Linked DNA regions of Homo sapiens: region 1 is linked to region 2. The links are contacts of gene promoters, found by promoter capture Hi-C in human tissues and cell types (Jung and others, 2019). All regions are on one chromosome and are shown on one strand. The core of a region is centred on a gene start or on the middle of the fragment in contact, and the rest is flanking DNA. Distances in the headings are between cores, read along the strand shown. Region 1 overlaps KASH5 (KASH domain containing 5). Region 2 holds the start of SLC6A16 (solute carrier family 6 member 16).

What was found. Contacts are between HindIII fragments. The study calls those that stand out against the background at their distance.
Region 1: a contact is called between a fragment that was not itself captured here and the fragment with the promoter of SLC6A16 in region 2, in 2 of the 25 tissues and cell types used here (bladder and heart right ventricle).

What each region holds. Positions count from the first base shown.
Region 1 is chr19:49,399,683-49,402,553 of GRCh38, forward strand. All of the region lies in intron 9 of KASH5 (KASH domain containing 5), which reads left to right. Among named protein-coding and RNA genes, the nearest start is that of KASH5, 13 kb to the left of the region's middle. The HindIII fragment of the contact is 8,336 bases long and covers 1-2,871 here.
Region 2 is chr19:49,323,848-49,326,547 of GRCh38, forward strand. It overlaps SLC6A16 (solute carrier family 6 member 16), which reads right to left and starts at 1,344. Exons shown (of 12, transcript NM_014037.3): 1 at 1,201-1,344. RefSeq lists an enhancer at 2,508-2,657. The HindIII fragment of the contact is 19,669 bases long and covers 1-2,700 here.

The DNA of each region.
Region 1 (2,871 bases), core at 243-2,742, 76 kb after region 2:
AGAGTGTGAGGCATGGGGTCAGCCTACATGGCTTCAGGCTGAGGCCACCTACATAAGAGTGGACCAGTGCCTCCCTTCTCTGTGCCTCAGTTGCCTCACCTATAAAGATGAACAAAACAATGGCATCTGCCTCAGTGGTTTGTGTGAGACTTCAACCGAAGGATACTTGCAAAGTCTTGGGCACAAGGTAGGACACATAGGATGTGCTCACTAAAAGTTATCTAGCATTGTTTCTATATTAGTATTTTTTACAGTGAATAAAACAGCCAGGCACAGTGGCTCATGCCTGGAATCCCAGCACTTCGGGAGGCCTAGCTGGGTGGACCCCTTTAGCCTAGGAGTTCGAGACCATCCCGGGCAACATGGCAAAACCTTGCCTCTACAAAAAATAGAAAAATAAGCCAGGCATGGTAGTGTGCACCTGTAGTCCAGCCACTCAGGAGGCTGAGGTGGAAAGACTGCACGAGCCCGGGAGACAGAGGTTGCAGTGAGCCAAGATTGCATCATGGCATTCCAGCCTGGATGACAGAGCGAGAGCCTCTCAAAAAAAAAAAAAAAAAAAAAATTGGATTTGAAGTCAACCTTGAGTTCAAATCCCATCTCCGCCACTTACACAATAGGCAACCTTTAAGCATGTGACTTCTCCTTCTCAAGCCTTTACTTTTAGTTTCTTTTTTTTTTTTTTCTTTTTTTTTTTTTTGAGACAGAGTTTCATTCTTGTTGCCCAGGCTGGAGTGGAATGGCGCGATCTTACCTCATGGCAACCACCGTCTCCCGGTTCAAGTGATTCTTCTGCCTCAGCCTCCCAAGTAGCTGGGATTACAGGCATGTGCCACCACACCTGGCTAATTTTGTTTTTTTGTTGGTTGGTTGGTTTGTTTGTTTTAGTAGAGACGGGGTTTTTCCATGTTGGTCAGGCTGGTCTCAAACTCCCGACCTCAGGTGATCTGCCCACCTCAGCCTCCCAAAATGCTGGGATTACAGACATGAGCCACCACACCTGACCTACTTTTATTTTCAAAGAACTGGAAGAAGGGTATCTGTTCAGTAGGCTTGTTTTGAGGATTGACAGCATTTCACTGAGGGACTAGCAAACAATATGAAGAGACTGAGTTCAGCTTCACATTTAATTCAAGCCCCGTTCCATCCAAGACAGAAAAACATCATCTTAGTTCATTCTGGGCCCACCTAATTTTTTTTAGATTGAAACAAACTCATCAATTGACAATGAAACCTGTCACCACCCCCGACCTCAAGGTGGTATCTAAGTTGCAGGAGACTGATGCAGGAGCCTAGTGCTCTAGGAGGCTGCTGATCCTCACTCAATGTTTCTCCTCTCTGCTGTTCATGAGATTGATGGGTTTTGTCCAAGCGTTTGTCACCACTGTGTGCTGGCATCTACTGTGAGGCCCGCATTGCCTTTGGATCTCTGGACATACCATCTTCTTCATCTTCTGGTGGTGATCCCTTATCTGGGCTGGGACTCTTACTCCACCACTTCCACACCCTTCCAGAGCCAGGGAGGTGATTTGGCTACTTTCCTGTGAAAGGGAAGAGGCTGGGGTCACTGCCCAAAGCCCCTGCCTCATTTCCCCAGGCCAGGGTGGGTGCTCATGGTGGGGAGATGTGGCTTCTCTGGGGAAAGAGAAACAGGAGAGAGATTCCTCTGTTCTCCCTGAGCTGTTAGCAAAGTCCCTGTCCGTCACTCATTTCCCTGAAGGATCCCAAACCCCACCCAGGCCTTGACAGACTGGAGGACACAGGGCTGGGGTGGGCAGAGGTCTGGAGAGGACCCACCAGTGAGGCCTCTTTGCTTTCACAAGAAAGTAGCATCTCTATTATTCTCACACCGTGATGATTCTGAGAGTGCTCTGGGAAGTACACGCAAGGCCTCTCAGATCACAAGACTTCCAGGGCTCTGCGGTTCTCCATCCATACCCTCCACCCCTCATAGCTAGCCCTGGGTTAGGGGAAAACTCTGGGCTCATTTTCAGCCTATTCTCTTCTCTGTCTGTCCTGCATTCCTCCCCCAGCTCTAAGGATCTCTGCCTAGTCCAGACAGATCATGTATTCCCAAAAAATATCTTTGTCCTACATGTGCAGTGTTTTTTACACTGAAATCCAAAATCTTTCTGCTATTTTCTGGCTCTTCCATGAAAACTCACCCCCTTGGGGCAATGGGAATCTCACAGCAGGATGGCTGTACCATGTGAGACATGGAATGCAGCAGGATGTGACAGTTTCTTTCAGAACATCCCTTTTTAAGAATGAAAAAGTTGCCAGGCGCAGTGGCTCACGCCTGTAATCCCAGCACTTTGGGAGGCCGAGGTGGGTGGATCACCTGAGATCAGGAGTTCGAGACCAGCCTGGCCAACACGGTGAAGCCCCATCTCTACTAAAAATAAAAAAATCAGCCGGGTGTGGTGGCACACACCTGTAATCCCAGCTACTCGGGAGGCTGAGGCAGGAGAATCGCTTGAACCCAGGAGGCAGAGGTTGCAGTGAGCCAAGATGGTACCAGTGTACTCCAGTCTGGGCGACAGAGCAAGACTCAGTCTCAAAAAAAAAAGGAAAAGAAAAACTTTCCGGCTGGGCATGGTGGCTCACACCTGTAATCCCAACACTTTGGGAGGCCAAAGCAAGATTGCCTAGGCCAGGAGTTCGAGACCAACCTAGGCAACATAGTGAGAGCCCGTCTCTATAAAACAAAAAAAAACAAAAAAAGTAAATAAAAGAATGAAAGGCCAGGCACAGTGGCTCACGCTTGTAATCCCAGCATCTTGGGAGGCCGAGATGGGTGGATCATTTGAGGTCAGGAGTTCGAAACCAGCCTGACCAACATGGTGAAACCCCACCTCTACTAAAAATATA
Region 2 (2,700 bases), core at 94-2,593:
TTCCACTTCTGGGTATACACCCAAAATAAGTGAAAACCAAGCCTCCAGTGGCTCAGCCTGTAATCCCAGCTCTTTGAAAGGCTGAGGTGGAAGGATTGCTTGAGCCCAGAAGTTCGAGGCTGTAGTGAGAGGTGATCATGCCACTGGACTCCAGCCTGGGAGACAGAGAGAGACCCTGTCTCTTAAAAATAATAATAATAGGCTGGGCACGGGGGTTCACACCTGTAATCTCAGCACTTTAGGAAGCTGAGGCGGGTGGATCGGCTGAGGTCAGGAGCTCGAGACCAGCCAGGCCAACACAGTGAAACCCCGTTTCTACTAAAAATACAAAAAATTAGCTGGGGGTGGTGGCGCACGCCTATAGTCCCAGCTACTTGGGAGGCTGAGGCAGGAGAATCGCTTGAACCTGGGAAGCAGAGGTTGCAGTGAGCTGAGATCGTGCCACTGCACTCCAGCCTGGGTGACAGAGTGGGACTCCATCTCAAATAAATAAATAAATAAAAAATAATAGATTCATGTTTCTTAAACACATTCTAGAACAGTTGTCCTTAAAAGCAAGCTTTACGGAAGGGAGAGAACTGAGTTTTGGCCAGCTGGCCACTTCCAACATCCATAAAGCCCCTTGAGCCCCAGGCGGACTCCTCTTCCCATATGGGTGCAACCCTCCATGGTGCCCCTACACCGTCATCCCAAGCAACTCCTAGGCTCATGCCCTGTGGGGAGTGCTCAGGATCCCCCAGAAATGCCCATTCCCCTCACATTACCTCCTTCCCTGGAACTATAACCTCCAGAAAAGGAAAATAAGGAGCTGGTGTCCCATTTCTGCAAAAAGCAGAAAATAACTGCCCTAACAGACCAGTGATGGGGCTAGACCCGGGTTTCTGCCACTCGGGCACTTGACACTGATGGCTTTCCCCAAAGGCAGGGACTGATGGCCGAATCCTGTCAAGGAATTGGCTCAAACTCGGACTGGATGAGTGAGGAGAGCCGAAGACAGTTTCCTCTGTCCTACGTGGGGGGTAAAGGAGGGACCCCTTTGATCCCTCAGCTCCACAGAGCCCAGGGCAACCAGGAGGCTCCCAGCCAGTCACCTGTCACCCGTCAGTGGAGCCCAGTGGGCCCGGGCCTCGAAAATGGCGCCCAGCCCCACACACCCCAGATGTGGGAACATTTTAGGGCTCCCTGGGCCGTGACCCTCACCCTAGCCCCAAGGCTTCTGCCAGGTTCTTCAGTCCAGCCAGTCGGACAAAAATGAGGGTGAAGAAGCCCCAGCTGAGAAGCCTAGCAATCTCCTCAGGCCCCTTCAGGCGTCGACAGATCGGTTTGGGCGACACCCCTCGATCTGCCTGGCGCGCGGCCTTTCCCGCCGATTCTCTGCGCATGCGCCGCCGCGCCCCCTCACTCTTTCCCTACAGCTGTAGCAAACACTGTAACCACTTCGCCCTCCCCAACTCCCTGCTCTCTCCCCACACGCACGCACGTGTGCACATCCTCTGACTGCTCACGCGCCACTCCCTTCCCCACCGCACCCCACCCCGACACCCACGATGCCACGCTTCAGGCGGGGCTCTAAGACAAGGCCTTTCTCTGGCACATGCACTTTGCTTCCACTTCATGTAAGGAAGAAGAGGGTAGGAAGTGGGAGAATCGTCTCATTCATTCCTTCTAGCCTTCAAACCTTTCGCATTTACTTAAAGATCGCCTACTAGAAACCAAACCTTAAATATGCGTCCAACAAGGCAGACAGGGACGTTGCCTTAAGAGAGCTCAGAAGCCTACTAGGGCTGCAGACAAGAATTAAAAACTCAAAGATTTACTTAGGTCATCCGTTCTCATACTTTCCGGTCTCTTAAGAATTATTAAGGACTCCAATAATTTATGAGTTACATTTATATGGGTTGTATGTTTATGTGAGTTGTATCTATCAATATTAAAATAAATTTCTAAAATAGTCATTGTTTAAAAATTCATTATGTGTCAAAATAACATTTTTATTTAAAATAACTATAATTTCTACTCCAAAAGAAATTTTGGCGCTGGGCGCGGTGGCTGACGCCTGTAATCCCAGCACTTTGGGAGGCCAAGGCGGGTGGATCACGAGGTCAGGAGTTCGAGACTAGCTTGGCCAACATGATGAAACCCCGTCTCTACTAAAAGTCAAAAAAAAAAAAAATTAGCCGGGCGTGGTGGCACACACCTGTAATCCCAGCTACTCGGGAGCCTGAGGCAGGAGAATCGTTGGAACCCAGGAGGCAGAGGTTGCAATGAGCCGAGATTTTGCCACTGCACTCCAGCCTAGACAACAGAGCAAGACTCCGTCTCAAAAAAAAAAAGGAAAAAAAAGAAAAAATTTGGGGAGAAGAATGGCATCATTTTACATTTTTGCAAATCTCTCTAATGTCTGGCTTCATAGAAGACAGCTGGATTCTCATATCTGCTTCTGCACTGAGTGTGTCAAAATAGCTCATGTCTTGTAGCTTCTGGCAAACATCACTATATTCAAAGAGGAAATGAAAGTGAAAGGCAAATAATATCTTAGTAGTATTATGAAAATAATGTTCACCTCATGGACCCCCAAAAGTGTTTCAAGAGCCCCCAGGAGTCCCTGAGCCACACTTTGAGAATGAAAGGCTTAAATTGTTATGATTGAACAAAGAGATGAAGAGGAAATTTTGGGGGTGCTGTAAGAATTCATCACAA